7 separate regions of the Homo sapiens genome follow, and all the other regions are linked to region 6. Evidence: promoter capture Hi-C in 16 types of primary human blood cells and fetal thymus (Javierre and others, 2016). All regions are on one chromosome and are shown on one strand. The core of a region is centred on a gene start or on the middle of the fragment in contact, and the rest is flanking DNA. Distances in the headings are between cores, read along the strand shown. Region 1 holds the start of TH (tyrosine hydroxylase). Region 2 overlaps CD81-AS1 (CD81 antisense RNA 1). Region 3 has its middle 9.5 kb from the start of C11orf21. Region 4 has its middle 38 kb from the start of MIR4686. Region 5 overlaps CD81-AS1 (CD81 antisense RNA 1). Region 6 holds the start of CDKN1C (cyclin dependent kinase inhibitor 1C). Region 7 overlaps ASCL2 (achaete-scute family bHLH transcription factor 2).

What was found. Contacts are between HindIII fragments. The CHiCAGO score rates a contact against its expected background, and 5 or more counts as called.
Region 1: the fragment with the promoter of TH here is called in contact with the fragment with the promoter of CDKN1C in region 6 in 4 of 17 cell types (total B cells, naive B cells, M0 macrophages and 1 more); the score reaches 7.6 in total B cells.
Region 2: a fragment that was not itself captured here is called in contact with the fragment with the promoter of CDKN1C in region 6 in 2 of 17 cell types (naive B cells and total CD4 T cells); the score reaches 6.0 in naive B cells.
Region 3: a contact is called between a fragment that was not itself captured here and the fragment with the promoter of CDKN1C in region 6, in 1 of 17 cell types (total B cells). The highest score is 5.4, in total B cells.
Region 4: a contact is called between a fragment that was not itself captured here and the fragment with the promoter of CDKN1C in region 6, in 1 of 17 cell types (naive B cells). The highest score is 6.1, in naive B cells.
Region 5: a contact is called between a fragment that was not itself captured here and the fragment with the promoter of CDKN1C in region 6, in 1 of 17 cell types (M1 macrophages). The highest score is 5.2, in M1 macrophages.
Region 7: a fragment that was not itself captured here is called in contact with the fragment with the promoter of CDKN1C in region 6 in 1 of 17 cell types (M0 macrophages); the score reaches 5.2 in M0 macrophages.

What each region holds. Positions count from the first base shown.
Region 1 is chr11:2,169,941-2,173,858 of GRCh38, forward strand. It overlaps TH (tyrosine hydroxylase), which reads right to left and starts at 1,875. Exons shown (of 13, transcript NM_000360.4): 1 at 1,757-1,875. The coding sequence starts at 1,846. It overlaps MIR4686 (microRNA 4686), which reads left to right and starts at 3,123; the gene lies at 3,123-3,198. The HindIII fragment of the contact is 9,589 bases long and covers 1-3,918 here.
Region 2 is chr11:2,364,300-2,368,174 of GRCh38, forward strand. All of the region lies in intron 1 of CD81-AS1 (CD81 antisense RNA 1), which reads right to left. Among named protein-coding and RNA genes, the nearest start is that of CD81, 11 kb to the right of the region's middle. The HindIII fragment of the contact is 225 bases long and covers 2,477-2,701 here.
Region 3 is chr11:2,290,484-2,294,298 of GRCh38, forward strand. No RefSeq gene overlaps it. Among named protein-coding and RNA genes, the nearest start is that of C11orf21, 9.5 kb to the right of the region's middle. The HindIII fragment of the contact is 7,512 bases long and covers 1-3,815 here.
Region 4 is chr11:2,209,423-2,212,785 of GRCh38, forward strand. No RefSeq gene overlaps it. Among named protein-coding and RNA genes, the nearest start is that of MIR4686, 38 kb to the left of the region's middle. RefSeq lists an enhancer at 2,991-3,363. The HindIII fragment of the contact is 993 bases long and covers 860-1,852 here.
Region 5 is chr11:2,328,296-2,332,022 of GRCh38, forward strand. CD81-AS1 (CD81 antisense RNA 1) reads right to left here. Exons shown (of 3, transcript NR_108080.1): 2 at 1,268-1,479; 3 at 454-1,008. Among named protein-coding and RNA genes, the nearest start is that of TSPAN32, 28 kb to the left of the region's middle. RefSeq lists an enhancer at 284-785. The HindIII fragment of the contact is 2,399 bases long and covers 604-3,002 here.
Region 6 is chr11:2,884,183-2,887,791 of GRCh38, forward strand. CDKN1C (cyclin dependent kinase inhibitor 1C) reads right to left here and starts at 1,593. Exons shown (of 4, transcript NM_001122630.2): 1 at 1,452-1,593; 2 at 488-1,284. The coding sequence starts at 1,274. It overlaps SLC67A1-AS (SLC67A1 antisense RNA), which reads right to left. Exons shown (of 3, transcript NR_169305.1): 3 at 3,162-3,609. RefSeq lists enhancers at 583-1,418, 1,419-2,254, 2,255-3,090. The HindIII fragment of the contact is 9,568 bases long and covers 1-3,609 here.
Region 7 is chr11:2,265,395-2,268,741 of GRCh38, forward strand. It overlaps ASCL2 (achaete-scute family bHLH transcription factor 2), which reads right to left. Exons shown (of 2, transcript NM_005170.3): 2 at 3,104-3,347. Among named protein-coding and RNA genes, the nearest start is that of ASCL2, 3.5 kb to the right of the region's middle. The HindIII fragment of the contact is 1,647 bases long and covers 869-2,515 here.

The DNA.
Region 1 (3,918 bases), core at 625-3,124, 710 kb before region 6:
CCCACAGTCGGGCAGCGCTGATGGCACACAGAGGCAGGGGATGAGAGCACGTTTTTGAGCGCCTACTGTGTGCCTGCTGGGGCAGATGCTAGCCGAGGTGCCTGCGGGCATTGCACGCCCTTCCCGATGGGGGCAGCCCAGTCAGAAGCAGTGGTGGTGGGGGAGGAGTGGGGGCTGGGAAGGTGCTCGCCTGCTCCCCACTCTGTGGCGAGCAGACAGACAGAGACGCTGTGTCACTCATCCCCAGGCCAGGCGCTAACTGGATTAGTGATGGGAAGAGGGCGATGTCTTGATGGACAGTGGCATCGGCTGCCGGGGAGGGAACGGCAGCTCAGGAAGGAGCTGCCCCCACAGGGCCCCAGTGAACAACCCCCCTACCCTCCTGGCTGCCGCACAGGGGACCCTTTCTCACACTCCCATCAGGACACCTGTCCTCGGGCCCTGCCCCTCTGTGCCACCCCGCAGGCGCCCGCTCCTGGCTGCCTTGTCATCCCTCCACCCTTTGTCATAGCTCTGGGCGCAGGTGTCTCTCCCTGGGCTCAGCGCCTCTGACCCCTCGATCCCAGAGCCGTCCCAGGCCTGGACAGAGGGGGACTTGGCAGACACCTGGGGCTCATCCCTTGGAGCTGAACTCCCAAGAAGGCTCTGGGCCCCTTGTAAGAGAAGAATCAGCTTCATCCTGAGCTTCCAGGGTTGTGGAACATGAAGGGGAGCAGCAGAAGCCCCTCCCAGAGTCCCCTCTTACTTACCCTTGGGGTGGGGGTGTAGGATGCAGCTGGGGCTGCAGTTCCAGGCCACGGAGAGCCTGTGAGGCTGGGCCCCGGGGCGCCCTGGGGAGGGGATGCCTGATGGGGAGCCTGGTGGGGGAGGGTAGGGGAGGGCGGGGGAGGACGGGGGAGGGCGCCCTGTGTCCCTGAGAAGGTACCTGGAAATGACACTGCTACAACTCACACCACATTTCAATCAAGGTCCATAAATAAAAACCCATTTTAAATGTGCCAGGGAGCCCAAGGTTCTGAGTGCCCAAGGAGGCACCGAAGACCCCTCCTGTGGGCTGAAAAGCTCCCGATTATCCAGCCTGGCCCACACAGTCCCCTGTACACAGGGCTTCCGAGTGCAGGTCACAGGGAACACAGACTCCATGGTGAATGAATGAATGAATGAATGAATGAATGAGGGAAATAAGGGAGGAACAGGCCAATGGGAATCACCCCAGAGCCCAGATACCCTTTGAATTTTGCCCCCTATTTGCCCAGGACCCCCCACCATGAGCTGCTGCTAGAGCCTGGGAAGGGCCTTGGGGCTGCCTCCCCAAGCAGGCAGGCTGGTTGGGGTGCTGACTAGGGCAGCTGGGGCAGAGGGAGGCAGGGGCAGGTGGGAGTAGGGTGGGGGCTGGGTGCAGCAGCCGGGGACCTCTGGCCATCTTGGATTTTTTGGATGGATTTGTTTCCACATTCCGATCGTTAAGATTCAAGATGAAACAAGACACAGAGACCCACACGACCCCCGAGAGAGGTCGGCCTAAGAGGGGCACACACAGGGACAGGCATCACCTCACCCTCCCCCAACAGGGACTCAAACACCAGGCACAGGGGATGCCGCTGTGCCCAGGCCTCCACATCCACGCCGCGTCCCAGGGGTTTGCATGGACCCTGAGCCTGGGGCTGCCAGCCAGGCTGGGGAGTAGCAGAGGCAGCTGGCACCAGCCCTGGGCTCCGGTCCACTGCGGCCGCCGGGCACCTACCTGCCCTCTTACCATGATGGCCTCTGCCTGCTTGGCGTCCAGCTCAGACACGGCCCTGCGGAAGCCCTTGGCCTGTGGCGTGGTGGCGTCGGGGGTGGGCATGGCTCAGTGTGGAGGTCCGGGCTCCGTCTCCACAGCCCTGGCCCAGCAGCCTCTTATAAGCTGAGCTGACGTCAAAGCCCCCTCTGGGTCCCCCACCTTCCCCTCCTTACATCCCCCACCCCTGCCTGCTGTGCCTGATGGAGGCGGGGGTGGGTGAGGAAGGAGGGAGGCGCAGGAGAAAGGGCTCGTCCGTGGAATCTAATTGCCTTCACTCCCCAGCCCTGTCTGAATCATCCTCAGCCCGCGGGCTTGCGGGGACCAGGGGCTCGTGCTCTGCGGGGGGCTGAGACAGCCAGGGTCCCCTTGGCCCCACAGCCCTCAAGAGAGCACACAGGGAGGGGCTTTCTGGCAGCCCAGGGGCACACTTTTAATGAACACCAGAACCTCGTGGCAGACCGACCCAGAAAGCCCCAAGACGGGGAATCCAGCCTCCAGCCTCAGATGTCAGGAGGCAATTTGTTTGCTTCTCCAGAAGATTCCAGGCCGTGTGTCTCATAGACGTGGTTCCTAGGAGTGCCATCTGCCCACAGCCCCCGGGCCCTGCAGGTGTGGCCCTTGCAGCGGCTTCCCAAGCTCGCCCCGTGGGGTCCAGAATGTCCCAGGAGGGCCCACCTGTCCAGTGTGGAGGACCCTGGGAGGCTGAAGAAGACATCTCTAAGGAGACGCCACGCGTTTCCAAATGGCTGCCACCTCCTGCATCACAGTCCCCACCAGGGTTGCCAGGGCGACCAGGGCCAGGGACGGCTTCCACCCACCCCACTCAGCCCCTCTATGGCCCACTGCTAGCTCCTGGCTTCCCTCGGGGTCCTGTGGCCCCTTCTTTAAAGAGCACGCACGTCCCTCAGTGCTGAGGGCCCTGATGCCTTCCCCTTGGAGAGACCTTTGCAGTTTCTCCTCTACCCCACCAGGCCCCGGGTTGAGGGTGACCCTGGGGTGACCTGAGAACTCCCTTGAGGACAACCCCAGCCTAGAGCCTCCCCCAAGTTCCATGTCCGCCCCGCAGGCACCCGCATCCAGCCCACGCCCACTGGCACCTCCTGCTCCCAGCCGCTGCCCCACCCAGGGAGAGTGATGCCCCTGCCCAGGGTGGCTTCTGGCCCTTCTGGTGGAAGGGGAGGCCTCCCCATCCCTCTGGGGTCAGCAGAGATGGCCAGAGCCTGCCTTGACAATGCTGGACTGTACAGAGGGAAGGACGTGGCCCCAGAGTGCATGGCCTGCGGCTGAACGCTGCCACCGCTGTCCCTCCTGGAGAAGAACCGTTTCCGACAGGGCTTGGGGCTTCCTGTATCTGCTGGGCTTTCTGGTGTTGGCAGCCCAAGATGACACCCTGGGCCCAGCAGGAGCCAGAAGCCCTAGACGCTCCCTGACTTCTCGAAGGCCTACCCCGGCTGGTCACTGTGGCAGCCAGAGCTGGCATCTCTCAGGGCCCACTCTGCTCCTGTCAGCTGTGGGACTCCCCGCTCCCCGTTCTCTCTTCAACAATAGCCCCTGGGACCTTTCCTAAAACTGCTTCAGCCATGGCATCCCTGTCCCACACCCCTCCGTGGCTCCTCGCTGCCCTCTGCAGGCAGGCTGAGTGCTCAGTCAAAGCAAAGGGAAGACCCCCCAACCCTTCCCACTTCCTGGCCCAGAAGGATTTGGGGCTCCGTGATCCCCGGTTTGCAGTGTCATTCCTCACCCACCTCTTATCCGGGTGAACTCCTATGCATCCCACAAAACCCAGTTCCGTCGCTGCTCACTCTGCAATGCCTGCCCTTTCTTGCCACGATATTAATGCCCCTCCCTTGCGCTCCTCTGGAACATCCCTGGGGGCAGGGAAGCCTACCGCTCGGCCCCTGCTGTCTCTCAGCACCCAGTGCAGACCCTGTCCTCTCTCGGAGATGCTATGCCCCTCCACAGTGTTCCCCAAAGGCCTCCACCTCCTGTGGGTCCTGCCCACAGTAGGTCTGGGTGCCTGCTCAGAAGGGCGTTGGAGGGATTTGCCTCCAAGACCTCAGCCTGAAGGCTCAGCCTCTGGCCTCGCCCTGCGGCCCGTGAGCTTCTGTCACCCAGGGCTGAGGCCCACCCACCTG
Region 2 (3,875 bases), core at 1,339-3,838, 520 kb before region 6:
CCGTCAGCATGTCCAAAGCACCTGGAGGAGAAAAGATTTGTCTCCTCATTCGTCACTAGGTTCATGGTTGAGGCTCTCACAGCAAAAGACAGATTAACAAGAGAAAAGCAGACACATTTATTCAATATAAGTTTCATCTCGTATAGGAGCCTTCGGAAATGAGGACCCAGCACTTCGGGAGGCCGAGGTGGACAGACCATTTGAAGTCAGGAGTTCCGAGACCAGCCTGGCCAACATGGTGAAACCCCATCTCTACTAAAAATACAAAATTAGCCGGGCATGGTGGCATGTGCCTGCAGTCCCAGCTACCGGGGTGGCTGAGGCAGGAGACTTGCTTGAACCCGGGAGGTGGAGGTTGCAGTGAGCCGAGATCACGCCATTACACTTCAGCCAGGGTGACAGAGTGAAACTCCGTCTCAAAAAAAAAAAAAAAAAGAAAAAGAAAAGGAAAAAGAAATGAGGACCCAAGGGAAGAGGGAAACCCGTGTATTTTTATGTGGAGTTTGATGGAGAGTCATGCAGAGTGTGATTGGATTAGACAAAGTGGGTGTACTCGTCCGTTCTTGCACTGTATAAAGAATACTTGAGACTGCGTAATTCATAAAGAAAGGAGGTTTACTTGGCTTACAGTTCCCCAGGCTGTACAGAAAGCATGGTGCTGGCATCCACATGGCTTCTGGGGGCGGGCTCAGGAAACTTACAATCATGGCGGAAGGCAAAGGAGGAGCTGGCACTTCACGTGGCCGGAGCAGGAGGAAGCCCAGAGGGAGAGAGGGGAGGTGCCATATGCCTTTAAACAAGCAGGTCTCATGAGAACTCACTATCACGAGAACAGCACTGGGGGGAAATCCACCCCCATGAGCCAATCACCTCCAGCAGGCCCCACCTCCAGCATTGGGGATTACAATTCAACATGAGATTTAGGCAGGTACACAGATCCAAACCGTATCAGGGTGTGGCCTAATGGTGATACACTGGGGAGACTTGGCCTGTGGTCTTAGTCCATCGTGTGCTGTTAGAACAGAAAACCACAGACTGGCTAACTTATTGGCCCCTGGTCCTAGAGGCTGGGAGGTCCGAGATCGACAGGCCACCTCTGGCAAGGGTCTTTGTGCTGCCTTATCCCATGACAGAAGGGCAAAGAGAGGGAGAGAGAGACAGCCAGAGAGAAGGGGACCAAACTCATCCTTCTGTCAGAGCCCGCTCCCACGACAATGATGTTAGTCCATCATGATTACAGAGATGGGGGACACATTCAGACCACAGCAGCCCCCTCAACCCGCACACACTGCACATTGAGGGGAGGGCCGGGAGACTGGAAGGAAACATCAGAGTCTGGAGAAGACCACCAGGATCACCAGGGCTATGCTCTCACCCGGCACCCAGCACCGAGGGGCTCATGGGAAACAAGACGGGTCTCTCGGTGCACGAGTGCTGGGCACACATAGTCCACCGTGCATCCTGGGCTGATGATCTGGACCCTGGTCCTGTGCAGCCCTGGGGTGGGGCTCCAGGCTGAGATCAGCCACGTCTGGGGGAGGAGACAGTGTTCCCAGTCTCACCTTGCCCCACGGACTCTGACAGGGGTTGAAGAAGCAAGGAGGCTCCAAGGACTGGGGAGGGGGAGTCTGGCCGACGATCTAGGAGCATCAAGGCGCCTGCTCCCTCTCGGCGTGGCCCGGTCCTGTAGGTGGTCAGTTATGCAATGCCACTGCCTTCCTACCTCACAAGGAGGGTGGGTGGACTCAGAAGCCAGGCCCAGGCTTCCTTCTTGGCTCAGGCAAGGAACATAGGGGGCTTTGAGCTTTGCTTATTCATTTAACAACTGAACCCCTAGTCTGTGCCAGGCCCCCATTTAAATGGTCCCTGGGATACAGCAGGGTCCAGAATGGGCCCAGACCCTGCCCCCATAGCTGACCTTCTGGAGAGCCTGAGGAGTGAGGGGTGCCCTCCAGGCACGGCAGACGGGGCAGGCTCTGCATTCGGGGGCTCCAGCTGCTTTCCCACCACCCACCCACTCCACCCGAGCCCTTCTGGGTCAGCTGGGCTCCTGGCTCTGCCCGCCTGGGGTGCAAGACGCCAAGTTCCTTCCTGGACAGTGAGAGAACCATGCCAAAAAGAAATGAAAGGAAGGCAGACGGCGAGATGAGGGAGAGGGTGGGCACCCAGCCAGGGACCGCAGAGACGAGGAGGAGGCACAGAGACCCACTGTCCCCAGCCACTGCCAGTGAGGCTGGCCCAGGGCCAGGGGCTGGGCGTCCCTGGCATGCATGTGGCTCCCAGTGCCCCCACGTCCAACAGGAGTGGGGCGGCCCCCTCTTCTGCCACATCCCCATCCCACCTCCCATTCCATTCACTGGTCTCATTTTTAAGTTTTTCTCTCCCAGTTATTCAGGATTGATTTGGAGAGCAGAGCGATGGCTGCAGGTGGCTCTTCATTTTCCTTCACCTAAGAAGCAAACCATCATCCACCCCAAGCTTGTCTCTCCAGCCTGCCCCCTACATGAGGACAACCTCCCTCCTCTTCCACGGTGGCGCTGTTCCCACTGGAGGCCCAGGCTTGGCCATCCGTTCATTCTTGGAGTCCTCAAGAGATTGTCAGCTCTGCAGTGGGGAGCAGCCGCTGTCAAAGACCCTGGAACTTCCTCCCTGCTGCGTCCACCAACCCCCACTGCCCGCTGGGCACTCCCAACCTGAAACAAGCTTGCTCGCTGCAAAAGCCTCACCTCTGACCCAACTTCCCACTCCCAGGATACCCAACCTGGCCTTCCCTCTGGATACCCCTGTGGGCTCCCCTCTGCTGATGGGTTCCCCTCTCCAGCTGTGGCTTCCCTCTGCTGATGGGGTCCCCTCTCCAGCTGGGGCTCCCTCCACTGATGGGGTTCCCTCTACAGCTGTGGCTCTCTCCACTGATGGGGTCCCCTCTCCAGCTGGGGCTCCCTCCACTGATGTGGTCCCCTCTTCAGCTTGGGCTCCCTCCACTGATGGGGTCCCCTCTTCAGCTGGGGCTCCTCTCCACTGACAGGGTCTCCTTTCCATCTGGGGCTCCCTTGGCTGATGAAGTCCCTTCTCCAGGTGAGGCTGCTCTCTGCTGACAGGGTCCCCTCTCCAGCTAGGTCTCCTCTCTGTTGATAGGGTCCCCTCTCCGGGTGGGCTCCCCTCTGCTGACGGGGTCCTCTGATGGGGTCCCTACTCCAGGGGGGCTCCCCTCCATAGATGAGCTCCCCTTCCTGGGTTGGGTGACCCCTCCGCCCTATCTGTGTCTGCAGGTTGGGGCTAGGCAGTGCTGGCCAGCATCTGACAACCTCCCCTTTCTGTTCTTGGGCACTGCTCACTTATTCAGGTCTCAGCCAGGCAGCCCCTCCAATGGTAATCTTCAGAGTCCCCTTCAGCAACACAGCTTCCCCTCTGTGGCCCAGCTCATGCTGAAGTAAACAAGGCAATGTCATTAACGGCTGGTATCAGCTTGTACGGGGAACCAGTGGCCCCAGAAGCCTCTGGGGAGGCCCAGGCTGTGAGGATCAGGGGTCCGGAAGAGCCTCTAGAGCGGGAGAAAGAGGCCTCAGGGGTCCCTCCTCACAGGGGATGGTGACAACACGGTAGGGAATGGAGGGGTCAGGGCTGGGTCCAGGACACGGTGACCCTGGCCAGAAAAGGCCGGGCCTGGCTGGCACCCGCACGAAGGGAACGGAGCCAGTGTGGAAAAGCAGGCCCGCGTCCTCTTCTGCACTCCCAGCCCCTTTAAACTACACACAGCTTGTAGGAAGGGGATCAGAGGCCCCTGGGCGTCCCATGGCTATGCTGCACCTGGGGACATGAAGCCTAGGGTAGCTCAGCCAGCTCTGGTCACGGCTGACAGACAGCCTCACCCCAAC
Region 3 (3,815 bases), core at 432-2,931, 590 kb before region 6:
GTCCCCCCATGCCTGGAGGGCTGGAGTGAGGACAGAGGGGGCCTGCTGGACCCAGGAGCGTGGAGCTCACTGGTGACTCCTGAGAGTCAGGGGACTCCCAGGAATGGCGTGGAATCCAGGATGCCACTTCCTCCTGCCTGGCAGCAGGGCAGGCAGCTGGCTGGGGCCCAGACTCCCAGGAGGATGCCACTGCTGCCCAGACCTACTGCAGTGCACAGCAGAGCGGCAAGGGCCCCTGGTGCGTTGAGCAAACTTCCAGGCTTAAAAAGAGCGTGGCTGCCTCATCCCTCCACCACCCAGAGCTGGCTCAGGCCACGTGTGACCCACCCTACCCTTAACAAGGCAGCTCCGGGAGTCCTGGAAGATGAACATCCCGCTCAGCTAGGGCGACACTGTGCCAATCCCTCCCATGGGCTTCCACCTGTACCTCTTGTTTTCTACACAGCTTTATTGAAATATAATTCACATACTATAAAATTCACTGTTTTAACTGTACCATTCAGGGGCTTTTAGTATATTCACAGAAGCATGCCTCCCTCAGCACCCCCAAAAACAACTCCCCGCTTTAGTATATTCGCAGAGGCGTGCCACCCGCAGCACCCCCAAAAACAACTCCCCACTTTATTCGCAGAGGCGTGCCTCCCGCAGCACCCCCAAAAACAACTCCCCGCTTTAGTATATTCGCAGAGGTGTGCCTCCCGCAGCACCCCCAAAAACAACTCCCCGCTTTAGTATATTCGCAGAGGTGTGCCTCCCGCAGCACCCCCAAAAACAATTCCCCGCTTTATTCACAGAGGCATGCCACCCGCAGCACCCCCAAAAACAACTCCCCGCTTTAGTATATTCAGAGGCGTGCCACCCGCAGCACCCCCAAAAACAACTCCCTGCTTCAGTATATTCACAGAGGCGTGCCTCCCGCAGCACCCCCAAAAACAACTCCCTGCTTTAGTATATTCAGAGGCGTGCCTCCCTCAGCACCCCCAAAAACAACTCCCCGCTTTAGTATATTCACAGAGGCGTGCCACCCGCAGCACCCCCAAAAACAACTCCCCGCTTCAGTATATTCACAGAGGCGTGCCACCCGCAGCACCCCCAAAAACAACTCCCCGCTTTATTCACAGAGGCGTGCCACCCGCAGCACCCCCAAAAACAACTCCCCACTTTATTCGCAGAGGTGTGCCTCCCGCAGCACCCCCAAAAACAACTCCCCGCTTTATTCACAGAGGCGTGCCACCCGCAGCACCCCCAAAAACAACTCCCCGCTTTAGTATATTCAGAGGCGTGCCACCCGCAGCACCCCCAAAAACAACTCCCCGCTTTAGTATATTCAGAGGCGTGCCACCCGCAGCACCCCCAAAAACAACTCCCTGCTTCAGTATATTCACAGAGGCGTGCCTCCCGCAGCACCCCCAAAAACAACTCCCTGCTTTAGTATATTCAGAGGCGTGCCTCCCTCAGCACCCCCAAAAACAACTCCCCGCTTTAGTATATTCACAGAGGCGTGCCACCCGCAGCACCCCCAAAAACAACTCCCCGCTTCAGTATATTCACAGAGGCGTGCCACCCGCAGCACCCCCAAAAACAACTCCCCGCTTTATTCACAGAGGCGTGCCACCCGCAGCACCCCCAAAAACAACTCCCCACTTTATTCGCAGAGGCGTGCCTCCCTCAGCACCCCCAAAAACAACTCCCCGCTTTAGTATATTCACAGAGGCGTGCCACCCGCAGCACCCCCAAAAACAACTCCCCGCTTTAGTATATTCAGAGGCGTGCCACCCGCAGCACCCCCAAAAACAACTCCCCGCTTTAGTATATTCAGAGGCGTGCCACCCGCAGCACCCCCAAAAACAACTCCCCGCTTTAGTATATTCGCAGAGGCGTGCCACCCGCAGCACCCCCAAAAACAACTCCCCGCTTTAGTATATTCAGAGGCGTGCCTCCCTCAGCACCCCCAAAAACAACTCCCCGCTTCAGTATATTCACAGAGGCGTGCCACCCGCAGCACCCCCAAAAACAACTCCCTACTTCAGTATATTCACAGAGGCGTGCCACCCGCAGCACCCCCAAAAACAACTCCCCGCTTTAGTATATTCACAGAGGCGTGCCTCCCTCAGCACCCCCAAAAACAACTCCCCGCTTTAGTATTTTCACAGAGGCGTGCCACCCGCAGCACCCCCAAAAACAACTCCCCACTCACTAGCAGCCGCTCCCCTTGCCCCAGCCTCTGCCAAACACTGACCCACTTCCCACCTCCATGGAGTTGCACGTTCTGGACATTTCATACAAATGGGGTCCTCTGATTCCCCACCCACAATTTTTAATCATACTTAACTTCCAAATAAAGACAAAGTCAAATCCCTCTTCCACCCAACAAGATGTGGCCAAGCGTATACAAGAGAACAGCATGTCCCCCTCTCCCCCAGAGAAGAGGAGAGCCCCTGATCCTGATTCATCTCTGGGTGTTCTTCCCCTTAAAAAAAAAAAAAAAAAATCAAAGGGGGAATAGGATTCAGCTGGAATGGGATTCAGCTGATTCTCATTCTCCCTTTGATATCCTAATTTTTTTTTTTTTTTTTTTTTTTTTTTTTTGAGACAGACTCTGTCAGCCAGGCTGGAGTGCAGTAGTGCAATCTCGGCTCACTGCAACCTCCACCTCCTGGGTTCAAGCAATTCTCCTGCCTCAGCCTCTCACATAGCTGGGATAACAGGCACGGGCCATCACGCCCGGCTAATTTTTGTATTTTTAGTAGAGACGGGGTTTCACCACATTGGCCAGGCTGGTCTCAAACTCCTGACCTCAGGTGATTCGCCTGCCTCAGCCTCCCAAAGTGCTAAGATTACATGCCTGAGCCACCGTGCCCAGCCTGATAGCCTAAAATTTAAACACTGAGATGTTTGAAATAATTAAATATCAACTACTATCAAACGTACACTTCATACACTAGTACCGTATGAAGTGGTAGGGAATGGAAGAGGAGAAGAAACAGTGGCTAATGTGGTCCTACCCAATACACTCGGATCAAAATAAGAAACACGCACACCTGTGATAGGCTTCGTTTCTGCAGCAGCCGAGCAGCGGGAACTAGCGTTTCAGCCTCCGTCTCCCGCATAGCCTTCGCCTCCGCAAGCACTCAGCTGATGTGGCTCTTTGCCTGGTGGGATGCCCTAAGCCTTCATTCCTGGAGAGCCTGGGTCCTGAATGACCCTGCTTGGATCAGGGGTGATGGTTTTCCATGATTTTAATCACAGGACATGGGAACCTTAAGAGGCGCTGCAGGGGACCCTCCGCATTCCAGACGTGCTCCTCCTCATCCTCCTTGTGCAACCCGGCCGATTCCGCCCGATAAAATCAGTCCCGTGGCCCGGGCAGTAACTGCCTTTTTTACCTATTGATTCTCTGCAGTGAGGATCCCAAAATGGCCTGGTGCAATCTCACCTTCCAGTCTGGTGGAGCCGTTGGTGTCTCTGCGGGAAACTCTCCTCCCTCGAGAACTCAGACTTCTACACCAAGAGGACCTAGAGTTGTGGGGACAGGGAGCAAACACATCACCAGCAGAATGTCATGAGGGTGAAGAGAAGCCATTGCCACTTCCCCTTCTGGACTCCCAGAACCGTGAGGTCTGGGCGGCAGGAGAAACCGCTCCATAGACTGACTCTAATTCAGAGCCTGGACCGCCTCCTGGAGGACACGGCCCTCTCTGCAAAGCGTCCCCACTCAGCAGGCGCCGTGTGAGTCTCCCGAAGGCCATTCCACGGTCCTGTTCGTGAGCTGCTTCGGGGAGAGGAGGACCACGGAAGACCTCCAAGGTCACAAG
Region 4 (3,363 bases), core at 106-2,605, 670 kb before region 6:
GAATGTGGCCCCATGGCCAAGGGTAAGGCAGAGTCAGGGCCCCAGGTCACCCACCCCACAGCCACTCGGCCTTCTCTCAGGTCCCCAGACTGCCTCCTCACCCCCTGTCGGCCCACAGGCCTGGACCTCCCTCCTGCCTGCCCTCCTCCCTGCCCTGGCTGCCCACGCTCCTCTCCAGGGATCAAGTCCGCCCCAGCCACCCTGGCCCTGCTTCCCAGGGGGTGGGCTCCAGCCTTGGCACTTGCACACCTGAGGACCACGCACTCACTCCCTCCTGAGCCCATTCTGACAGGGAAAGTCCCGTAACAGGGTCCAAGCCTAGGACTTCCGCCCAGCCTGCCTGGCTCCCGCTCTGTGGACACCCGAGACCAGGGTCTCTTGTCTGTCCTGCCTGAGGTCCCTCTGTCTCATCTCCAAGACCCCAGAGGCCCCTGGAGGAGGTTTCTCAGGAGCAGAGAATGAGTATTAGTGGTAGCTATGAAGGGGTCCTAGGCCCGGCCGCCCAAACCCACTCCTCCCCAGGCAGATCTTCAGCCAGTGGCTAGGGCAGCAGGAGAGCCACTCTCACCAGCCCTCTGGCCACTGTGGCCTCTGCCCAGCTCTAACAGCCCACCCTGCTCCGCAGCTGTGCCCTTGCGTCCTGTCACAGGGGACCCCGGCGGGAAGGGCAGGGCCTGAGCCGGTCTGCGCTACCCATGGAGGTTGGCCTCGTTCTTCTTGCTGTGGTCCAGCCCCTCTGGAGCCCATGGGCCCACCTCCCAGGCCCCGTCCTGCGGGGACTCCCACCTTGGATGTGGACAGGACCTCCTGGCTCACTTCTAACCAATAGGATGAGGCAGAAGTGACAACATTGCTTCCAAGCTTAGGTCACAAAAGGACGTGGTTTTTGCCTGCTTTCATTTGATGATCTTGAAGGAGTCTGCCCTGCCCACAAGGGCTTGGCCGGGCAGCAAGGACTGCGCTCCATCTGTCTGTCCAGTCCCTCCCTGCGTGTCCCTGAGGTAGCTCCTGGAGGACAGTGGCTGGCACCTTGTCAGGGTCCACACCTGGTTGATGCAAGAAGGCACAGGTGAGCCCAGTCCACGCAGCTCCACACGGGTCAGAACCGGGCTGTCTGCTGGGCAGGCAGGTGCATCCACCTGTGTCCAATCACATTTGGAAAGTGGAAAGGGAAATGGTGGCCTGCAAAAGGCATTGGTGCCCCTCAGACCCCAGGGCCGAGGTCCCTGGGCAGCCCGGCCCACAGACCCATCACCCTGCACTGCCAGCCGAGGCTGCTGGCCCTGGGCTCAGTACTCTGGCCATGGCTGGGCTCATGTCGAGACCTCCCTTCCCCTGACTTCCATGCTCAGGGCTCCTTCGTGCAGGTCCAGGGATGTGGTGGAGGCCCGAGGTACAGGGACAAGGTTGCAGGCAGCGCTGGTGGGGCAAGTGCCAGGGCCCAGGCCGTTTCATGCAAAGACACCCACTGGAGAACGGAGGCCCTAGGTGCAGGCCCTGGCATGACCCTTTCCTTCACTGGAGGAGGACTCATGTTAAAAAGGACCTGCCAAGGGGACATAGACAGAGGAGCTGTAGATAAAAAGCTCCTGAGCCAACCAGGTTCCAGGCAGCCCAGGAGCCAAGGGGTGGGGGGAGCAGGATGCCCTGGGGACACACTGCCCTGTGCAGCCCGGCCTCTGTGCCTGGGCAAACAGCAAAGCCTCAGTGAGCGGGCTGCAGGCAAGGGAGGCCCCATGGCCCAGGGAGGTTTATGGCCTCCCAGCAGAGCACCCGGCCCCAGCAGCTGGCCTGGCCCCTGCACCTGTCCCTTTGTTTGCACAAATCCCGTCCCTAATAGTCTTAATCGCAAAGCTTTGATGACTGTGCCAGACCCTGCACAGGCCCCTGCGGACTGCGCTGAACAAACACGCCATTGTCTCCGGGTGCACCGCAGGCGACCAGTTAATGGTTAAACCAAGGGGAGAAGGATGGCAGCTCTGCCTGAGGCCAGGGTGGGGGAGCTGCCTGGCGTGGTGTGGGCACCAGCTCCCCCCACCCCACAAGGGCACAGTCGTCCTACACTGGGGCTCCCAGTGGGCAGAGAGAGCACACGGCTTCTCCCCTGTTTTAGAACTAGCCTCCCAGCAACCCTGGAGCCGGGAGACAAGTCCAGAGGAAGCTGCTGGAGTCCCCAGCAAGACACCTGCCCCGACCCCTCCACACCAGGCAGGCGCCCAGGCTGTGGGAGCTGCTCAGACGCTTGAGAGCCGGCCACTCTCTGTGTACTCCAGACCCACGGGCCAGGAGTGGGCATGCAGTTAGAGCCCCGTGAGCAAGCCTCACACAGCTGTGGGACGTCAGCAGCACAGCTGCCATGGGAAATGCCCTGGCCGGTCCACGCAGGCCGGTTACCCCCAGCACTACCGTGTGACCAGCAATCCCACCCCAGGTCTATCCCCAGAAGTGAAAGCAGGGACTCAGGCAGACACGTGCACACCCATGTTCCCGGCAGCATCACTCACCAGAGGCAACAGGTGGAAACGACCCCGGCATGCACCAACCACGAAAACGACGAGCCCAGGCCGGGCATGGTGTCTCACGCCTATAATCCCAGCACTTTGGGAGGCCGAGGCGGGTGGATCACGAGGTCAGGAGATCGAGACCATCCTGGCTAACACGGTGAAACCCCGTCTCTACTAAAAATACAAAAAATTAGCCAGGCGCGATGGCAGGCGCCTGTAGTCCCAGCTACTGGGGAGGCTGAGGCAGGAGAATGGCGTGAACCCGGGAGGCGGAGCTTGCAGTGAGCAGAGATCGCACCACTGCACTCTAGCCTGGGCGACAGAGTGACACTCCGTCTCAAAAAAAAAAAAAAGACGAGCCCACTGTGGTCTGCCTGTACAATGGAACATTATTGGGCCATGCGAGGAATGATGGACAGATGCAGGCTGCAGCATGGACAGGCCTCACCAACGCCACATTCGGTGGAAGAGGCCGGGCACACAACGCCGCGTGGTGATGGACTCCCTTTATATGAAATGTCCAGAATAGGCAAATCCATAGGGACAAAAATAGATGGGTGGCCGCCCAGGGAGGGGGGTGGTGGAGACGGGGAGTGACCGCTCAGTGACAGGGTTTCCGCCTGGGGGATGCACGTGCTCCAGAGCTAGACCGAGGTGAGGGTCGCACAGCACTGAGATCGTGCTGGATACGCTGGATTGTGCACTGAAAATAGCTAATTCTGGGTATGTGAACTTCACCTCCTTTTAAAAATGACAGCCCACTGAGACAGACACACAAACAGTGGGTCCCTGAGTGTGGGAAACCAAGACGGGCTGGGGCCGAGGCCAGGCCACAGACCCCAGTCGGGCGGCCTGGCTC
Region 5 (3,727 bases), core at 553-3,052, 560 kb before region 6:
TTTCCAGCCTCTCCCGTGACCCGGTTCCGGCTCTGCTGCCACATTTTCAGGTGTTTGTTACAGCAACAGCCCCGCTTCCTGGTAGCAATGTCTGTCTTAGCCTGTTTGTGCTGCTGTAACAAAGCACCATAGAATAGGTCATTTATACGTCATAGAAATTGATTGCTCACAGTTCCAGAGGCTGGGAATCCTGCACTGCAGGTGATGTCTCGAGAGGACCTTCTTGCCGCGTCCTCACATGGCAGAAAGGGAAAGGGCACACAGGCACCGAGCTCATTCCTCGCCCTTTTCTAAAGCACTGATCCCACCCAGGAGGGCGGAGCCCCCACGGCCTCATCGCCTTCCAAAGGCCCCACCTCTCACTACCGTTGCGTTGGGGACTTTTCAACATGAATTTTGGAGGGACACAAATATTCAGACCACAGTAAGCCATGACTAATGCACACAGAAAACTGAAGTTTCAGGATGTATTTGCTCTCATTCCTCTCCATCAACTCAATGGCAGCTGTCAGAAGGCTCTCAGACTTGAATGGGCCTTAATCCCATCTTTGTCTTCTGTTGATCGGTCCAAGTCAGGCATTTTATTGGGCCTTTGTCTCCCAAAGCTTGTTAAAATCCTAACTCTTGGAGCAGTTGGTTTTTCTGCCCTTGCGGTGCTCTGAATTTCTGGATCCATCTCTCTGTTCACTTTCATCTCTGCTTGTAAGCTGGGCCTTCTTTCTCAAGCTGGTCTCCGTCTCGTGTTGCGGGACCTAACACAAAACTCGCAATGTGGTGTTTTCCCACTTCGCCCCTTATGCTCCTGGCTGAGCCTTCTTGTATTCAGCCTGCCAGGTCACCAGGAGTGATTTTAGCAAGTTTGCTGCTCCAGCTCCACCAAGTCCCCATCACTCGGGCCCCCGGTGCCTGCTCTCTTGGCAGCAGCTGGGTTTGGGGGTTCCGACTGCTACCACAATACAGCCTGGCCTGTCCTGACTAATACAGAAGCAGGCTCTGTGAAGGAGGGTGCTGCCATAAGAAGAAACGCAAATTAACACGTATCTACACAGTCTCCGTGGTGCACAACAGTCAGCTTTTCCTGCTTATGTGTCTGGGCTCTGCTTGACTGATCTTGGCTGGGTGCATTCCCAAGACAGCAAGTCGTGGCTGGCCTCGGGCACAGGAAAGGGCGAGAGACTGGGGTCACAGATACAATCTAGCATAGGGGGACAGATAACTCAATGTTTAAATTCATAGGGTGCTGGACCAAGAGAGGGCATATCCAAACCTGATGTGCTCATCCATCGGAGATGCTGGGTCTGGAGAGGGTGTAGTGACTGGGTGGACTTTGGCAGGTCAACAGAGGGGTGGATGGCGGAACAGACGATACCATGTGTTCACCACACTGTTTCTTCCTCCTAGGCAAATGGAAAGACTGCATTTCCCAGTCACCTCTATGGTTAGTGTGGTTGCATGAGGGTCATGTGACCGAGTTCTGACCTGTGGGATATGGGAGGAAGCAACGTAAGCTACTTCCCAATCGCCCTTCCCTTTCCAAGGTGACCTTACAGGACACACGTTCCCAAAGTCAGCTCAAAGATGAAGAGTCACTTGACCACCATATGCAAGTGAAAAATAACCCCGAGACCTCAGGGGGTATTTGTTAACTGCAACGTAGCCTACTTTCAAAGCATGGTTCCTGGACCAGCTGCATCACCCGGGAATGCGGTAGAAATGCAGATTCTCAGGCCCTGCCCAGGCCTCCCAAATTAAGGATGCTGGGGTGGAGCCTAGCAATCTGCGTCTAAAAAGCTCTCCAGGGCAATCTGAAGGCTGTTCCTGGCCAGGCACAGTGGCTCATGTCTGTAATCCCAGCACTTTGGGATTACTTGAGAGGACCTTCTTGCCGTGTCCTCACATGGCAGAAAATGAAAGGGCACACAGGGGGATCGAGGCGGGTGGATCACTTGAAGTCAGGAGTTGGAGACAAGCCTGGCCAACATGATGAAACCCCATCTCTATTAAAAATACAAAAATTAGCCAGGTGTGGTGGTGCATGCCTATAGTCCTAGCTACTCAGGAGGCCGAGGCAGGAGAATTGCTTGAACCCAGGAGGTGGAGGTTGCAGTGAGCCGAGATCGTACCACTACGCTCCCGCCTGGGCGACAGAGCCAGATTCCATCTCAAAATAAATAAATAAATAAAGGCTGTTCCAACTATATAGGAGTTCAGGATACTGGCAAGGGTGTGATTAAAGTGAAGGACCAGGTGTTCCCAGCTGTGCAGGCAAAGAAGTGCAGTGAGGAAAGCATGCAGTACGGCTGCGTAGAGCACTCCCAGCAAAGCAGGTGGGCAAAGCAAACACACAGGGCCTGGAGGTGTGGAAGGGGTGCAAGGTTTGGACTTTAAATCTCAGAGAGGAAGCAACCCAAAATTAAAGAGACCCCAGGGATGGTGATGGGCACAGTGGGGCAGATGAAGTTCACTGGACAGGGGAGGTCAGGGGCCTAGGGGCCGTGGTGTGGGGTTGCTTGTCCCAGCTGGGATGGACACAGGAATTGGGCTGGAGAAGATGTACATGAGGTGGTCTTGTCTAAACCCTGCACATCCAGCTCCAAGCATGCAGGTAAATTCCCCCGGAACCAACTCCCATGCCAACGTCAGACTCGAACAAGTCCAAGGATGCTGAGTAACAGTCAGGGTTCTCCAGAGAAACCGAGTCAGTAAGATGTGTACATACACACAGAGAGAGATTATTGTAAGGACTTGGCTCACACAATTACAGAGGCTGAGCAGTCCCAAGATCCGTAGTTGGGAACCTTGGAGACCCAGGAGGACTGATGGTGTAAGCTCCCGTCTGAAAGGCAGCAGGCTCAAGACCCAAGGAGAGCCAATGTTTCAGTTTGAGTTTGAAGACAGGAAAAAACCAATGTCCCAGCTCACCCAGGTAAGAGGACTTCCCTCTTATTTGTCACGCGCCTCTGTGTGAAGAGACCACCAAATAGGTTTTGTGTGAGCAATGAAGCTTTTTAATCACCTGGGTGCAGGCAGACTGGGTCCAAAAAAGGAGTCAGCAAAGGGAGATAGGGGTGGGGCAGTTTTATAGGATTTGGGTAGGTAGTGGAAAATTACAGTTAAAGGGGGTTTTTCTTTTGTGGGCAGGGGCGGGGGGGTTACAAAGTGCTCGGTGGGGACCTTCTGATACTCATTGACCAGGAGAAGGAATTTCACAAGGTCAATTGATTAGTTAGGGTGGGGCAGGAACAAATCACCATGGTGGAATGTCATCAGTTAAGGCAGCAACTGTCTACTTTCACTTCTTTTGTGGTTCTTCAGTTGCTTCAGGCCATCTGGATGTATACATGCAGGCTTGGGCTCAGAACCCTGACACCACTCAGCCATTTTGTTCTATGCAGGCCTTCAGTGGGTGGGATGAGGCCCTCTAGAAAATAAAAGGTTTCGCTCTCCCTCTCCCTCTCCTTCTCCCTCTCCGTCTCCCTCTCCCTCTCCCCACGGTCTCCCTCTCATGCGGAGCCGAAGCTGGACTGTACTGCTGCCATCTCGGCTCACTGCAACCTCCCTGCCTGATTCTCCTGCCTCAGCCTGCCGAGTGCCTGCGATTGCAGGCACGCGCCACCACGCCTGACTGGTTTTGGTGGAGACGGGATTTTGCTGTGATGGCCGGGCCGGTCTCCAGCCCCTAACCGCGAGTGATCCGCCAGCCTTGGCCTCCCGAGGTGCCGGGATT
Region 6 (3,609 bases), core at 343-2,842:
ACCCGAGAGGGGGCCGGGAGAGGGCGCGGGGCGCGGGCCGGCCGGGGTGGGGGCGCCGTCCCCGCCCGCGCCGAGGTCCGCGGCGGGTCAGCTTTGTTTACGTCGCCGCGCAATGTGCTGTGTAAGCATTTCCCCTTGTCCCGCGGCCAAGCCCCCCGGGGCCGCCGCCGCGCTTAACCCCCTCCACGCCGTGCTCACGGCGCCCGGCCGCGCCCGGGGAGGGGCTCCCGCGGCCGGGGGCGAAAACTGCGCTCCCGGGGGGTCGCGGCCGGGATTCAGCCTCCCACCCCGCCCGCGCGAAGCCGCTGGAGGGCACAACAACGGGGCGGGGAGGGGGGTAAGGGCGCAGCCGCGCCCTGAGCGCTGCGGGCCCTTTAATGCCACGGGAGGAGGCGGGAACCCAGCGAGGCCCCCGAGGGCTGGGGGGACCGGCCGGCCGGACAAAGCGGGGCCGGGCCGGGCCGGGGCGGGGCCGTGCGGGGCTCACCGGAGATCAGAGGCCCGGACAGCTTCTTGATCGCCGCGCCGTTGGCGCTGGCGGCCGCGGTGCCGGCCGCGGGACGTCCCGAAATCCCCGAGTGCAGCTGGTCAGCGAGAGGCTCCTGGCCGCGCTGCCCCTGGTTCGCGCCCTGCTCGGCGCTCTCTTGAGGCGCCGCGTCCGGGGCCGGGGCCGGGGCGGGGGCCGGGGCCGGGGCCGGGGCCGGGGCTGGGGCCGGGGCCGCGACTGGAGCCGGGGCCGGAGCCGGAGCCGGAGCCGGGGCCGGGGCCGGGGCCAGGACCGCGACCGCGACCGGAGCCGCGACCGGAGCCGCGACCGGAGCCGGAGCCGGGGCCGGGGCTGGAGCCAGGACCGGGACTGGGGGCGGGGTGGACGCCGGGGCCGGGACCGGGACACTAGGCAGCTGCTCCGGCGCCTCCTCGAGGCCGTCGAGGGACTCAGCGGCCGGCTCGAGGGGCGGGCTGACAGCCACCGCGACCGCGACGGGCCGCGGCGCCAGCAGCAGGCGGCAGCGCCCCACCTGCACCGTCTCGCGGTAGAACGCGGGCACCGAGTCGCTGTCCACTTCGGTCCACTGCAGGCGTCCAGGGCCCCGCAGCGGCATGTCCTGCTGGAAGTCGTAATCCCAGCGGTTCTGGTCCTCGGCGTTCAGCTCGGCCAGGCGGGCCTGCAGCTCGCGGCTCAGCTCCTCGTGGTCCACCGGCCCGAAGAGGCTGCGGCAGGCGCTGGTGCGCACTAGTACTGGGAAGGTCCCACGGGCGACAAGACGCTCCATCGTGGATGTGCTGCGGAGGGACGCGTCGGACATGGCCCGGGGCTGCGCAAACGCGGGCAGCGAGAGAGGAGAGGACAGCGAGAAGAAGGGGAAAGGAGAGGAGGAGAGGGCGGAGGCCGGGCGCAAGGGAGACCCCGCGCCGCCCGACTCTGCGTGTGCGAGGGACGCGGCGGCTACCTGGCTGTCCGGTGGTGGACTCTTCTGCGTCGGGTTCGCCTGTCTCGTCCGGACGGCAGCCGCGCCCCCTCGATGCCTGCTGGCTAGCTCGCTCGCTCAGGCCTGGCCGGCACCCCTCGAGCACAGCGCACTTGGCCTGTGGAACGCCCAGCCCGCCTGCGCCCCCTTTATACGCGCGGGCCCCACCCCCGTGCGCGCGGGCCCGGCCGCGATTAGCATAATGTAGTATTTTCAGTTTCAACAACACCACGGCGATTGGCGGCCGCCCCGCTGCCCCGCCCCGCCGCGGCCCGGCCCCCGCGCACCGCCCATTGGCCGCGCGCACACCCACCGGGGGCGGGGCGGGGCGCGCGGCCGGGGCGCGCGGCTGATTGGCGGCCGCGGGGCGAGCGCGCTGTAGCAGGGGAAGGGGGCGGTGAGCGGGGCGGGGGCGGGAGTTAAAGGGCGCTGCGGGCGGTAACGTGACACCGCGACGCCCGCCCCCTCGCCCCATCCCCCCTGCAACACTCCCCCACCCCCCCGGCTCCCGCCCCCCGCCGGCTCCTTTGTCTGCAGGCGGGGGCCTCAGCCCAGCGCGGCAGGGGCCGGCTCCTGGCGGGTCCGGTGTCCGGCCAGGCCCAACTCGACCCCGGCCCGGTCCGGACCCCGGCGCCCAGCTCCGTCCCGCGCTCGCCCGTGGGCCTCCTGCGCCAGCTGACGAGGCTTGGACCCGCCGCTGCCAGCTCGGCCCTGGCCTGCGCCGGATGGGGTCTTCGGCTGCCCCCGCGCGGCCTGCTGCTGCTGGGCTGGTGTCCCTTCGAGGGCTCCGCGCGCCTGGAGCCCTCACACACCTGCTGGCCCTAAGGCCCTCGAGTCGGGAGGGGGGACAGGGGTCAGCTCCACTCTTTCCCCGAGGGACCATGTGTGGGACACCTTGAGAGACTCCCACCAGCCCCCTGGAGCTGGAGTCTGAAGCCGCTATCTGCGGAGGCCCACCCTGCCCAGTAGATGGAACAGGGGCTGAGCCCATCATGTCACTGTCGGGGGTCCCAGCCCTTCTCAGCCTTGGGCCAGACCACTCCAGCCCCGGGATCTGCCTGTCCAGGCTGGCTGGAAGCTGTTGTACTGGGTAAAAGTGAAAGATCTGCCCGAGGTCATAGGGGAAGGGGCTGTGAAGGACCATGCCCCTCCCCCGCCTGCAGCCCTTCCTGGTACAGACCTCGGTCGTGCGCGCACGCACACACACACACACACACACACGCACGCACACACACGGTGCTTCACCCCAGCCAGGCCAGACCAAAAGAGACCATTATTTCCTGCTGCCTCCCTTTTGGCCCACCTACCATGAGGCAGGGAGCCCCCTCCTCAAACCAGGAGCCTCCCAGATCGGGATGGGGACTGTCAGACACCTGTTGGAGGGTCCAGCAGCCCATGAGATCTAAGCCCCTATCTCAGGTGAGCCTGTGAGCCAGCAGAGAGACCTCTGGGAGGGAGGGAAGGTGCGGTCCCCTGAACCCCAACCAGCCTGCCTTTGAGTCCCAAGACACCCCCACCCCCATGGAATGCTGTGGCAGTGTGCAGCTGCAGCTGGGGGAGCAGGGCGGGTCTTCTGGGTCTCAGGGAAGCGAGATCTGAAGTGAGGGGGGTGAACTGGATGGGACAGGGCGTTAACCCAGGAGAGGGGCCAGGGCCATTCTTGGCTCTTGATGGTGGAACCAAAAGCCATGATTTATGTGCAATTTCATATTCTTCTCTGTGCACAATTTACAAATTTCCCGCAACAAGCCCAGATGTCACAATTTTCATCTTAGGAAAACAAAGAGAAGCTGAAGAAGGCTCCCCAGGCCCTGCGAACCCCTCAAGCAGGGCTCATATCAACTGGCCTGGGGGCAGAAAGAGGCAAAGTCTAGTCTGCTCCATGCCCCTATGCTGCCACCTCCCCAGAGACTAGGAGCAAAGGGCTAGAGTGGGTAGTGACCTAGAGGCCCCCGGATACCCACACTCCAACCATCAGGACTCATTGGCCTTGGTGACACCACTCAGAGGGTGTAGCTGCCATCATCCTGTGTTATAGAAGAGCAGCAGAGACCGCGTCAGCCGCTGAGGCCGCACAGCTGGAAGGAAGCAGGGCTCAGAACTCCCGGGCTGCCTGGCTTTCTGGTTTGGTTTCCACTTA
Region 7 (3,347 bases), core at 442-2,941, 620 kb before region 6:
ACTTCCAGGTGGGGACTAGGCCTGGACCATGAGCTCCTAGCAGAGCCCTGCTGCCCCCACAGCAGAGCCCAGGACAGGCTGGCACCTGGGCCAGGTGAGGCTCTGTCCAGGCTCACTGATCTCAAATGCTGAACTGCTAAGGATGTCATGTCCCCAAAGGAGCCGCCAGGCTCAGCCTCACTTCCTGGAAGGCGTGAACATTGCAAGAATGTGGAAGTGAAAGAGTCCAGGGCTTAAATCTCAATTCTCATCATTTTCAAGCTGAGTCCAAGGGAGAGAAGACAGTCATGGATTCTTAGTTTCTGTTTCTGGTTGAGCCAGCAGGGTCCCTTCCTCATCCCTCTTTTCTGCTTATCACTAGAGACAGAAACTAAAACCATGACTTTAGGCTGCTGAGAGCCTAAAACAAAACGACAGCAAGAGAAGGTGGGTTGGACCAGCTTGCCTGTGACTTCAGGCACTTCATCTTTACTGGGCACTGGGTGAATGACAGTGTGGGGAGGGGTCTTCATAACACGGCAATCAGCAGCCCACTGTGCCCAGGAGACTCGCCTGTGGTCCTGGTTATCAACCACAGCCCTTTCCAGTCTCAAAAATGTCCCCGCTGGGACAGCAAGTTACATCGTCGCTACAAGTCCTGTCTCCTGGGAGATGCAGTCCAGCAGCACTACATCCTCTGAGCAGCAGGTGCCAAGTGGGATGAACTGGATAAGGACTGCATTCGGGGAAACGCCCGTGTGAAAGGAAATACACAGGAAGGAGGTGGCAACGGGTGGGAAGCCACTAGACCACGACGCGATTCTGCCCCAGTGAAGGCGAGGGGATAGCCTGGGCCTAGATCGCTGTGAGGTCTATGGAAGTTTCCACAAGCTTGCTGGGTAGTTCTCGAGGCAAACTCGGAAAGGGAGTCCCTTGTCTCCCTGGAACGGATCTTTCTTGGCATCTCTGTCACACTCATTAGGTGGGCCTGGTGTCAACCCCATTTGCAGGCCACCCCAAACTTGATCAAAGGTCCGCTTCTGGCACCCCATACCCTGTCCTACAGGAAATACAGGGACAGGCTCCCAATAACAACACCCAGCACGGTGCCATCAACACCACCACGCACACGGGGGCTCAACGGAACAGACATCTCCGCTTCTTCAATGAAGACACTGGAGGGAAATTGCTTACAAGGCGCTTAAGAGACCTATTAAGCAAACTTGATGTGTGGACCTGCGGCGGATCCCGATTCTATAAGGCCAACTGCACAAAACCACGAGACCCCCTGAGGACTGCGCCATTGGCTGGGTCCCCGATGATATGAAAGAACGGTGGTTCATTTGAGCGGGTGATGTTTTTGCGGTTTCCTTTAGAGGCACACGTGAAACATGACGGGTGAAAGGATTCAAAGTCTGGGATTTGCTTCAAAGCAACGCAGGGATGGCGTGGGGGATGGATGGGGCAGGAAGGGCCTTGAAACTGGTGCTGGAGGCTTCCCAGGGCTGCCCTGGAGCCCAGTGCGTCCTCCACCGGCCAGACTGTACAACGGTTGGATCCTGTGTCCACTGCTAGGACCCAGGCTCCACGAGCACGGGCTTGTGTGGCACACGGATGCACCCTAAGTCCTGGCACAGAGACTGCTCAACAAAGGCCTCGGTGCTTTTGTGTATGTTTGAAATTTTCCATAATAAAATGAAAAATGGGAAAATGGGAAAACAAAAATGGCAGCACTACTTACCCTCTGCAGAGTTTTGTCCGCTTCACGCCAGTGGGTGGCAGTCGTTTCCTCTGCCCTGGCCTTCCATCGTTTCCCCCCTACCCTCTTCACCCACCCAACAGCCCCCTGTGGTCCTGGCAGCTGTGGGCCTTTCCTTGAGGTCAAGGTGTGGAGTCCTGGGGAGGGCTCAGGGAGGCCACCGACCCGGGTGTGGATTCTGGGAGAAGCCTGTGGGATGTCCCTCCCTGGGTGACCACGGCAATGTGCCCCCTCCTGTCCCTTGGCCAAGGCCAGTTCCCTGAGCCCTGCAGCCCCAAGCCACAGCTGGTCCACTGACCCCAGTTGAGCCTGGTCCTCATCAGACCAGCTGACCCCTTTGACCCCCGCTACAGACTCGGCTTTGACCTTGGCTGCTGAGGAGCCCCCACCTGGACTGAGGCTGCAGCTGGCGAGAGAGGAGCCCTGAGCTCCTCTGATAAGAAGGGACCTGGCCAGCCTGACGTTTGAGACCCAGGCATCCCGGTAGCCTGGGTGTCCTGTTGCCGTGGTTATTCAGGAGCCACCCACTCTGGGACAACACCAGCTGCTCCCACCTCGCAGGGCTCCCACGGCTCTGTCCCAACCACTCCTTTCTGAAGGAAGGGGTGCCTCTGCGCCCTAAAGAAACCGGGGGAGCCCCACAACCCCTCCCCCACCAGGACACTAAAAGGCAGCTTTCGGTACAGTGAGACATCAAAGCCTCCTAGGCCCTGAGTCAAAGGTATAGCCGTGTAATATCCCAGTGCCAGCTCTCCGGCTGCGGGGAGCCTGGCGCAAAGCTTCCAAGCCTTCCTTGTTCCTTTCAAGAGCCGCTCTTAGAATTCAGGTGAGCGGAGACCTGCAGGGCCTCCCCAGTGCGGGCAAAACCCAAAGCTAGCGAGAGGGCAGCCTCCAGGCACCTCTCACTAACTCCTCCCAGAGGCCGTTGAGGTGGGTCTGGTCAAACCCATTTGCAAGTTAACCCACTTGCCCTGGGCTGCCCAGCTGCCACGTTAGTGGAGATCTGAGCGTGGTGGCCTGCGCAGGAGCCCATGCCCTCAGCCCCACAGCCGGTGCTCTCTGGTCAGACCACCTCAGCCTAGCCCCACACCCAGCACTTACCCCAGCCCTCGGGATGGGTCAGCAGCCTCCAGCCTGCAGCTTCCAAGCCAGCGAGTAGCCCTGTCTGGACAACCCACCAGCCCACCACCTCCTGGAGGATGCCCCCAGCCTCACAAGGTGTCCCAATGGCTCCGCTATCAACGGCCTGGCTGCACTCCAGATCTCACCCAGACCCACCCTACGGAGGAGGCAGCAGGGTTTGAGGAGTAGTGACCACGGAAGTCTGGCCGTCACCTGGGAAGTGTAGGTGATAGGAGCCACTGGTAAACAGAACTGATTTATTTATAAAGTTCACGCTCCCTTGAAGAGGTGTGCCCCACACAGGCTTCTCCCTAGCAGAGCAGCAGTGCCCACAAACCCACCCCAGGGTGGGCTGTCACGGGGGCCTCACGCCAGGGACCCCGCCCCTCAGGGACTGCTCGTGTCCAGATCTTGGCCAGCATGGAAAACTCCAGATAGTGGGGGCAGGGGTCCAGGTCATCTTTATTACGCCCCAGGTCAAGGGTTC